Linked DNA regions of Homo sapiens: all the other regions are linked to region 3. The links are contacts of gene promoters, found by promoter capture Hi-C in blood cells and fetal thymus (Javierre and others, 2016). All regions are on one chromosome and are shown on one strand. Each heading gives the region's core, a stretch centred on a gene start or on the middle of the fragment in contact. The rest is flanking DNA. Distances are from core to core; before and after follow the strand shown.

Region 1 (3,447 bases), core at 286-2,785, 400 kb before region 3:
AAAATACTGATGAACGAATCATCCCCTTTAATGCATAAGCCATTTGTCTTGATGCATAAAATATGTTAATAATACAAAAAGATGTAGAGTTGGCATTTGGCATGATTCCTTTGGTTGTTTGTTTTCCTTATGTTTTTTTAACAAGAAAGTTTTCTCTCTCTTTCCCAGGTGAAGTTATAAAAGGTGACTCCATATTTCATATCAATGTGACCTCAAAGCAAATCTACAAAAAAGAAAAAAAAGTTTAAATAAAAGCAAATGCAAATAAGAAAATTCTTAACTTTACCATTTGAACACAAATATTGAATATAGAATTAAAACTCGTCATAAAAAGGATTAGAACTGATAGCATTCTAATATAAATTTTTAAAAATTTCATCATTTACATTTTTAAAATATCAATGTGACATCAATCCCTACCTACCTTAAGCTCAATGTTCAAAAGATGGTTTCCTAAGGAAAATATTATCCAAAAATCTAGAATAAATTATATTTCAGCTGGTATGCTGTATCTGTCAACACTAAATTGCTCTAGAATATATTGTTATCCTTCTTACATAGAATCATATTTTTCCAAAAAAAGACAGATTTTATGTAAATGGATATGTATAATTATTCAAAAGAAACCTTTAAGTCATAAATAAATCTTGGTGAATTAAATTTCCATGGTATCAACAAACGCACACTCCTGATTAAAAGGACTTTAAATGTTAAACCTATGAATTAAAAACAAACAAATGCAAGAATACTTTGTTTTATAGCATTTTACTTTATCGCTCTTTGCAGATATACTGCCTTTTTAACAAACTGAAGGTGTGTGTCAACCCTGTAGCAAGCCAATCTACCAGCACCATTTTCCCAACAGCATATGCCCACTTCATGTCTATGTCACACTTCAGTAATTCTTTTTCATTATTACTGTATCTGTTATGCTGATCTGTGATAAGTTATCTTTGATGTTTCCATTGTAATTGTTTTCAGGCAATATGAACCACTCCCATATACGATAGCAAGCATAATCCATGAATGTGTGTATTCTGACTGCTCCACTGACCATCTGTTTCCCCAACTCTCTCTTTTCCTCAGGCCTCCCTACTCCCTGAGATGCAGCAGTACTGAAATGACGTCAGTTCATAACCCTACAATGGCCCCTAGGTGTTCAAGTAAAAGGAGTCGCATGTCTCTCATTTTCAGTCAAAAGCTGGAAATGACTAAGCTTGGTGAGGAAGGCATGTTGAAAGTTGAGACAGGCAGAAAGGTAGGCTTCCTACATCAAGCAGTAAGTAACCCAAGTTGTGAATGCAAAGGGAAAGCTCTTGAAGGAAATTAAAAGTGTTACTCAAATAAACACCTGAATGATAAGAAAGTGAAACTCCCTTATTGCTGATAGTGAGAAAATTTGAGTGGTCTGGATAGAAGATCCAACCAGTTACAACATTCCTTTAAGCCAAAGCCCAATCCAGAGCAAGGCCCTAACGCTCTTTAATTCTACGAAAGCTGAGAAAAAGAGGGTGAGGAAGCTAAAGAAAAGTAGGAAGCTAGCAGAGGTTGATTCAGGAGGTTTAAGGAAAGATGCCATCTCCATAACATAAAAATACAAGGTGAGTCAGCAAATGCTGATGGAGAAGCTACAGCAAATTATCCAGAAATCTAGCTAAGATAACTAATGAAAGTGGCTACACTAATTAACAGATTTTCAGTGTTGAAGAAACAGTCATCAACTGTTTGACAGATGAAGACTGTCATCTGTGGAAGAAACAGTTGAAGACTGACAGTGATATTGACAGATGGAAGAAGATGCCATCTAGGACATTCACAGTCAGAAAGAAGTCAATGCCTGGCTTCAAAGCTTCAAAGGACAGGCTGATTCTGTCTTTTTTTTTTTTAATTATTTTTTAATTTTTTCAAACACTTGTGTCGAGGGCTGACTTTCAATAGATAGCAGCGAGGGAGCCGCTCTGCTACATACAAAACCCCGACCCAGAAGCAGGTCATCTATGAATAGTTTAGCACCAGGTTCCCCACGAACATGCATTGCGTGACGGGCGAGGGGGCGGCCACCTTTCTGGCCACAGGCTGACTCTCTTATTAGGACATAATGCAGTTGTTGACTTCAAGTTGAAGCCAATGCTCACTTACCATTCTGAAAATTCTAGGGCCTTAAAAATCATGATAAATCTAGACTGACTGTATTCTACAAATGGAACAACAAAGCCTGGATGACAGCACATCTGTTTACAGCATGGTTTACTGAATATTTTAAGCTCACAGTTGAAGACCTACTGCTCAGAAAATATTCCTTTCAAAATATTACTGTTTATTGACAATGCCCCTGGTTACCCAAGATTTCTGATGGTGATGTACAAAGAGATTAATGTTGCTTTCATCCCTGCAATAACCATTCTGCAGCTCATGAATCAAGGAGTAATTTTGACTTTAAAGTCCCATTATTTAAGAAACACATTTCATAAGGCCACAGCTGCCACAGAAAGAGATTCCTCTGATGGAACTGGGCAAAGTAAACTGAAAACCTTCTGAAAAGGATTCACCATTCTAGATGCCATAAAGAACAATCAGGATTCACAAGAGGAGGGCAAAATATCAACATTACCAGGATATTTGGTTAATGATTCCAACACTTATGAATGACTCTGAGGGGCTCAAGACTTCAGTGGAGAAAGTAACTGGATGTAAACAGCAAGAGAACTAAAATTATAAGTGGAGTGTGAAGATGTGACTGAATTGCTGCAATCTCATGATAAAACTTGAACAGGGGAATTGCTTCTTACGGCTGAGCAAAGAAAGTGGTTTCTTGAGATGAAATCAACTTCTGGTGAAGATGCTGTGCACATTGTTGAAATGACAACAAAGGGTTTAGAACCATTACTGCAGTGCCAGGGTTCCACCCCAGTTCTGAAAGAAGATCTGTGGTGGGGAATATGCTATCAAACAGTGTCACATGCTACAGAGGAATCTTTGGTGAAAGGAAGAGTCAATGTGGCAAACTTCATTGTTGCCTTATTTTAATAGCCACAGCCACCTCAACCTTCAGCAACCATCACCCTGATTCAGTCAGCAGCCATCAACATCAAGGCGAGACCCTCTACCACCAAAAAGATTACAACTTACTGAAAGCTCAAATGATCATTAGCATTTTCTAACAATAGTTTTTAAATAAGATATATACATTGTCTTTTTAGAAATAATGCTATTTTGCACACTTAATAGACTGTGGTATAGTGTATACATAACTTTTATATGCACTGGGAAACAAAAAAATTCCTGCAACTTGCTTTATTGCAGTGGTCTGGAATCAAACCTGCAATACCTCAGTGGTATACCTGTATTACTAACAGTTTTGTCTAATCAACTGAATTTCGTTGATGAATTATTTCATTCAACATTTTTTGAGCCATGTATTGAACCAGTCACTGAAACTAACATTAT
Region 2 (3,549 bases), core at 745-3,244, 270 kb before region 3:
GTTGAATGCTTGGAATTTAAGTGACTTACTCAAGATTACAACAGTGAGTCATTTACTCAGCCAAAAAGAGAGCAAGGAACTTCCTGGATACAAGTGTGGTGTGCGCTGGCAGCTCCATCTGCCCCTTCTTTATTGATGCCTTTTCAAAACTATGGGCTTTTTGTGAAGGCCAGATGGGTTTGCCCTTGAGTGTGACCACCACTCTGCTCCGAGATACATCAACTTGAATGAGGATTTGTTTTGATGGTTGGCATATAAGCCTCAGAGTTTTATTTTGAGATGTTAAATCTAAAAGCGAAGATTACATGTTGATTGCTAATTTCTTTGAACAAATTTTGCCCTAAGAGTTTATTGTAAAAATTAACTGGGCATGGTGGTGGGCGCCTGTAATCCCAGCTACTCAGGAGGCTGAGGCAGGAGAATCGCTTGAACCTGGGAGGCGGAGGTTGCAGTGAGCCGAGATTGCGCCACTGCACTCCAGCCTGGGTGGCAGAGCCAGACTCCATCTCAAAAAACAAACAAAGTTTATTGTTCCTGAAGGACGAAGTCTTTGAACTTCAGGTAGTCATGAGTTGAGGTGTGGGTATAAGGAATGGGGACAATGTGCCCCACTGCCCTCTTGTTTTGAAACATAGCTTACAACCATTACCCATTCACTTGGTATAATGTAGTATTTCAGGATAGGCACGGTTAGTTCTGACTCACACAGGTATCACTGTTGTCTGGACATGAATGATTTCTAGAGTTCATTTCTCATGAAACATGTTTTTATTTGCAGGGCTTTAGAGCTTTGAAATTAATTCTACATTATACATTGATGATTCTTTTGTCAACTTTGTTTTTCTCTGTCTATTCCTAATTCTATCTACCATATAATTTCTGTATAGTAGTTGTTTCCATCACAATTTTTTTCTGTGAGCTGTGATTACATAAAATTAGCCTTGTTGACTTATACTTTGATATCTTTCTTGAGACAAGCCAGCGATGACCCCAGTTGGACTGGAACAACAGACCACTTTGTTGGTGTCTTTTAATACAGCCAATACTAATAGGAAGCTTTATCTTTCTTAAGTATCTTCTTTCGCTTCCCCTTCACAGAACCTTACAGGGGCCCCATGGATCAGCAATATTGCTTATTAAATATAATTTCAACTTTTAATAAGATTTTCTAAATTCTTCTGATCACTTCCTACTTTCCTTACATAATGACAGTCATTGCACATCAGAATACAGGCCCTCAGTCCAGCAATGTGATTTTCGTTCTTATGCTCAGGTCATATGATATTCGTCAAAGTGGTTGCTCCCTCTACTAGTCACTCTTGGAATGTACTCCCACCCCCACTCCAATGACATCTCTCACCTCCTCTAAAAATCATTTTCTGCTGTGGTGTTCTTATCTGCCCATGATAGTTATTATATTTATTGTCTTCAGAGAGTAGAAAACAGAAAAAGACCAAGAGGGTAACTGTAGTCAGTTTAATTCTGTCTCATCATCACTTCCCGTCAGCAATCCACATTCCCCCAACCATACATGACAACTTACTTGCATCTGTAACTTTATGTTTTGCCCTCTTTCCTATTACAAGAGGTGAATTGTCCATTTTTTTTTCTTTTTTTTGAGACAGGGTCTCACTCTGTCACCCAGGCAGGAATGAAATGGCACAATTACGGCTCACTGCAGCCACTATCTCCTGGGCTCAAGTGATCCTCCCACCTCAGCCTCCTAAGTAGCTGGGACTACAGGCATGTGCCACCATGCCTGGCTAATTTTTGTATTTTTTGTAGAGACAGAGTCTCCCTATGTTGCCCAGGCTGGTCTCAAACTCCTGGGTTCAAGAAGTCTGGCCACCTAGGCCTTCCAAAGCGCCAGGATTATAGGTGTGAGCCACTGCTCTAGGTCCATGGACTTTCTTCCTGCAGTTATCCTCTCTTTTTCTCCATTGCTGTTGTTTTTTCCTTCCTTTCTTCCTTCCTTCCTTCTTTTTTTTCTTTCTTTTCTTTTCTTTCTTTCTCTTTCTTTCTTTCTTTCTTTCTTTCTTTCTTTCTTTCTTTCCTCTCTCTCTCTTTCTTTCTTTCTTTTCTTTCTTTCTTCCTGATGGAGTCTCGCTGTGTAGCCCTGGCTGCAACCTCCGCCTACTGGGTAAGTGATTCTCCTGTCTCAAACCCCCGAGTAGCTGAGACTACAGGCGCCCACCACCATGCCGGGCTAATTTGTGTATTTTTAGTAGTAGAGACAGGGATTTCACCATGTTAGCCAGGCTGGTCTTGAACTCCTGACCTCAGGTGATCCGCCTGCCTCGTCCTCCCAAAGTGTTAGGATTACAGGCATGAACCACTGCACCCAGCCCTGTTTTCTACTGGAGTTTTTCCATCATCATAGAAACATGCTATGCTTTTTTTCTCACATCAAACAAAAGCAAAATACCTTGCAAATAGAGACAAGCACAATAAAACACCTTCTGTGGTCCTTTTCTTTGCTCCCTTTTAACATAAAAATTTGTCTACACTTGCTTTCTTCAGTTTCTCTGTACTGCTCCATGGAAACTGTTTATTGTCATGGTCACTAAGTTGCTTAAGCAAGAATCTTTGAAGTCATCCTGGACTTCCTTCTTTCCTTTGCACTCCACAAACTATGGCTTACAGGACAAATTGGCCTGTCATGTGTTTCAGTAAATAAAGTTTTATTGGAACACAGTCATGGCCACATGTTTGTCTTTCTGTGACAACTTTTGCATTACAATGGCAGAGTTCAGACGTCCTAATGGGGACTGCATGGCCCTCAAAGCCTAAAATACTTACTATTTGGCTTGTTATAGAAAAAGTTGGCCAGCCCCTACACTAAAATATAAATCTTACAAAGGAAAGTGCTTTGTTTTGTTCCCTGCTATATCTCCAGTGCCTAGAAGAATACCTGGCACTTAGCAAAGCTTAACAAATACTTGCGGCAGAAAGGAAAAAAGAAAGAATGAATAAGTAGTCTACGTCACCATCTTGTTCTTTACTCTCTCTTATTCAATCTTTGTCGGTTCTCATTGTCCTTTCTCCATTTTCCATAAACTCTCTCCTCGGATTTGTTTCTTCCATTAAGCTTTTTCTTCATGCTCATCAAATTTCCAACAGGAGGAAAAGTCCTAAAAATTGCTAAACAAATTTTGGAAATACGAAGCTTAAGTTAGAGAAATTTTTCCTTTGGCAATAGTATTAAAAATGTGTTCATCAATGGGAACACATGGACATAGGGAGGGGAACATCACACACAGGGGCCTGTCGGGGGAGGGGGCTAGGGGAGGGATAGCATTAGGAGAAATACCTAATGTAGATGATGGGTTGATGGGTGCAGCAAACCACCATGGCGCGTGTATACCTGTGTAACAGACCTGCACGTTCTGCACATGTATCCCAGAACTTAAAGCATGATTTTTAAAGAAGTGTTCATTTTTTCTTTGCTAGTGTCTGCATTGTTGAGTTCATTTTGGAGAGAAGACTGTCAAGAGAGAAATGATATTTCTTTTAATAGGTACTCTTGGCAATTTTTGCTAATAATTTTAA
Region 3 (3,495 bases), core at 738-3,237:
AGAGTCTGGCTGTGTCGCCCAGGCTGGAGTGCAGTGGCGTGATCTCTGCTCACTGCAAGCTCTGCCTCCCGGGTTCACACCATTCTCCTGCCTCAGCCTCCCGAGTAGCTGGGACTACAGGTGCCCGCCACCATGCCCGGCTAATTTTTTGTATTTTTAGTAGAGACGGGGTTTCACCGTGTTAGCCAGGATGGTCTACGATCTCCTGACCTCGTGATCCGCCCGCCTCGGCCTCCCAAAGTGCTGTGATTACGGGCGTGAGCCACCGCGCCCGGCCAAGTCCCTTCCAGCTTTAACATTTAGGAATTAAAAACTGTTTTAGAATTGAAACCACAAATTGTCCTGGTTTCAGACAAGTTTGGTACCTGAGCAGGAGGTGAGGATGTATTTACAATTCAAAAGTAGTGGTTTTATAGGGGTAACAAGTCAAGCAGGTCATCACATGGTGTGACTGTTTCTGACTTTACTCTCTCCTATCTTTGTATCATAGCTTCACTCGCTCCTTGTAATGTAGCTGTTATATGACAAGTTCTTTCACTGCTTTTACAAGCTGTACTGCTTCAACACCGGCCAAAACTTCCTAAACTTCCACTGAACATTTTCATCACATTGAGAATACAAGAAACAATTTAAAACAAAAATTTCAATGTGGGTTTTCAAACCTGATCAGTGTTGAAGCTGGATGTAGGCCAGATATCTTACCTTAAAATCTTTTTTTCTTTTTCTTGAGACAGGGTCTCACTCTGTTGCCCACGCTGGAACGCAGTGGTGTGATCATAGCTCACTGCCTCCTGGCCTCAAGCAATCCTCCCTGCTTGGCCTCCCAAAGTGCTGGGATAACAGGTGTGAGCCACTGTGCCTTGCCCCATGCCTTAAAAACTTTTAAGAGTGGGATAAATGGACCATATATCTTTACTGCTAAAATGACTTAAAATTCCTGCACAATTCATGTAGCATTTCGGGAGTAGCAACATCCCCATGTACGTTTTTACCTAGGCAGTTCATCAGTAAAGGTATTTGTCAAGTGGCTTTCTTGTAGCCGGGAAGAAAGTGCATGTTAAAAACAACAACACCGGGCTGGTTTTTACTTTGTAAGTTTGAGCAAAGTGGTAGCTATACCAAACCTGGGAGTGGCTGAATGTCTTTCTATTTAGCAGTGAAAGATGATAGGAAACCAGCCAGATGGTCCTGATTTTAGGGTGAGATAGAGAGGTAAGCTCCAGATCTCATATAGGTTGCCTTTATTTCTGAGCTGTTTCTCACAGGACGGTGAGCTAAACGCTGGGTGCTTTTCCATGCAGAGATTCCTGTTTGGGGCTGGGATCAGCCATCCTACTTCACAAACAAGGAATATGCGGAAGAAGGAGTATACACAACGCTAACAACCCCAATATCAATGGAAACCCCACTTCCCACACTTTTCCTTTGGGACATCTCCCCCACCCCCCACTCCTCCCGCGTTACACGTTGCCAGGCTGCTTTGGGCGTTCCTTCCTCTGTAGTGCATTGCACGGGTACGTCATCAAATGTGCGTGTACACGTGCCAGATTCGCCTTTAAACGGTAATCTCCCCTAGGTCCAGATCGTGTACTTTCCCGTATGTAACGGTAGTGCAGTACCTGAACTATTAGTTATTTAAGTAATACGTAATGAATGAAGAGCTGAAACTGCAACCTGTTGATGGAAGAATGAATGAACGCGCTCCCCTCCTTCCTGCGGGGCTGCGCCGAGAAAATACGGTTCTGATTTAGCCACGACGTTAAAGGCTTTGACCTGTAGGGGGAGGGGAAAGAAAAGACGGGAAAAAGAAAACCAAAAAACAAAAAACCGGAAAAAGGGAAAAAGCGAAAAGGGGGAGGTCGCTCGGCCGCTCGCAGGCTCAGCCCGGTGGCCCCGCCCCGCGGCGGCCGGTGGCTGTGCGCGTGCGCAGGCGGGAGCGCGGCGGCTGGTCCAAGCCCGGCGCTGGGGGCGCGCAGCCGAGAAAGGGTTTGACGTGGCAGTTCCCAGCCCAGCTGCAACTCCGAGCGTGAGTCCAGGCTAAGGGGACGCCGGCCGGGGAAGAGGCGCGGCGGGAGAAGCGACCGCAGCGGGAGCCCGGCCACCGAGGGCTGCCGGCACTAGGCGCAGAGCCGCCAGCGCTCGGAAGCCCGCGGGGTGCGGGAGCGGGAACAGGTAAAGCCTCCCACCCGCGGACGCCTTCATGCGGGACAGCCCTGCCCAGGCACAGCGGAGCGGGTTGCGGCGCCCGGCCCGGGGACGCGGCGGGAGGCCGGGTGCTCACCTGAGGCAGTGGCGGCGGGAGGAGAACTCATTCTTTGTTCTTTAGCCTTCTAGTGCAGTTTAATAGTGGGGCCGGCGGGATGGGGGAGCAGGAGGTGGGCGTGGGCATTTTTTACCCGCCCCCACCTTTTGCCTTGGGATGCAGGAACTGCCTTGTTAGGATCCTCAGTGGCCACCATTCGAGTGTCATTGCCAGCGGTTTTCTCATCTCCTTATCAACTTAATTTCCTTTTTTGAAGGAAGGAAATGTTAGAAATATTCATGGTAAAAATGGCAACTATATCTTGAAGCCTCGGGACATCCGAATAGTGAAACTGATCTGGCCAAATACGAACTTGTTCCAGGGTTAGAAGTGCACCTTGGCTAGAGTTGCTGGGTGACAGTGAGCCAGGGGGCCGTTCTGGGGTTGGGGCTCCCCAGATTTTGATCCTAGGCCTGCTTATACCAAGTGGCTTTCTGCCGTGTCGCCGCTTGAAGCTGAGTCAGGTTTCTTTAACTTGGTGCTCTGTGTGAGGAAGTTTGACGTGGCAAACTGGGTTGCGTGAGGAAGCTGATTCCTCTGAGGACCAGTTCAGAGGGAACTGGCTGCTTCCTGTTCTTTGGAGTGACCATCTCAGCCTCTCTTTTCTGTCACTCAGCAACAGGCTGCTACTTAGGTGTGTTCGTGCCGACTTCCTAAGTGCTCTTGGTTGGATGAGCTTGACCAGCGCTCAGGCTGCCACGTCTCTCTCTGCTAAGTGGGAGGAGGAAAAAGGGGTTGTCAGAAACAAAGTGGACCAGAAGGCCTTTGCCTGCCTCTCTCCTCTTTTTCAGTTCTCCCCTTCCCAGGAGAAGGAAATGATCTCATAATATTTTTACATGGTTGCTTTTATTTTGGAAACTTATAGTTTAATATGGAAACAAAATCAAATCACAAATTTTAGGCTTCAAATTTTTAATTTGAAATGTTATTTCTTGAATATAGACAGATTCTAAGTCTTAGCAGGTATCACTGATCTCTTATCTTAAATTGTAGCAAATAAAAGAACAAAAGGAAGAATATGCTTGTATGGGGCAAATAAACTGGAGATAAATTGTAGAATCAGTGGAAATCTGGAAAGGCTTCATTTTCTAAAAGAAGGAACTGAGGCTTAGAGAGGTTCTTCAGCTCATTCCATGTCACACAGTTAAGTATGGCAGACATAGAATGGAAACCCACTTCTCTTGCATTCAAAG

The links. The method cuts DNA at HindIII sites, captures the fragments that hold promoters and counts their contacts. A CHiCAGO score of 5 or more calls a contact.
Region 1: a fragment that was not itself captured here is called in contact with the fragment with the promoter of SEC24D in region 3 in 2 of 17 cell types (naive B cells and naive CD8 T cells); the score reaches 5.9 in naive B cells.
Region 2: a contact is called between a fragment that was not itself captured here and the fragment with the promoter of SEC24D in region 3, in 1 of 17 cell types (monocytes). The highest score is 6.9, in monocytes.

Annotation. Positions count from the first base shown.
Region 1 is chr4:119,235,994-119,239,440 of GRCh38, reverse strand. It overlaps USP53 (ubiquitin specific peptidase 53), which reads right to left. Exons shown (of 19, transcript NM_001371395.1): 5 at 1-223. Among named protein-coding and RNA genes, the nearest start is that of USP53, 25 kb to the right of the region's middle. The HindIII fragment of the contact is 633 bases long and covers 1,219-1,851 here.
Region 2 is chr4:119,099,932-119,103,480 of GRCh38, reverse strand. It overlaps LOC102723967 (a long non-coding RNA gene), which reads right to left and starts at 3,349. Exons shown (of 3, transcript XR_001741422.1): 1 at 3,311-3,349; 2 at 2,988-3,141. RefSeq lists an enhancer at 1-147. The HindIII fragment of the contact is 1,871 bases long and covers 1,059-2,929 here.
Region 3 is chr4:118,834,618-118,838,112 of GRCh38, reverse strand. SEC24D (SEC24 homolog D, COPII component) reads left to right here and starts at 1,987. Exons shown (of 23, transcript NM_014822.4): 1 at 1,987-2,172. RefSeq lists enhancers at 1,825-2,119, 1,740-2,631 and a silencer at 1,824-2,313. The HindIII fragment of the contact is 6,235 bases long and covers 1-3,495 here.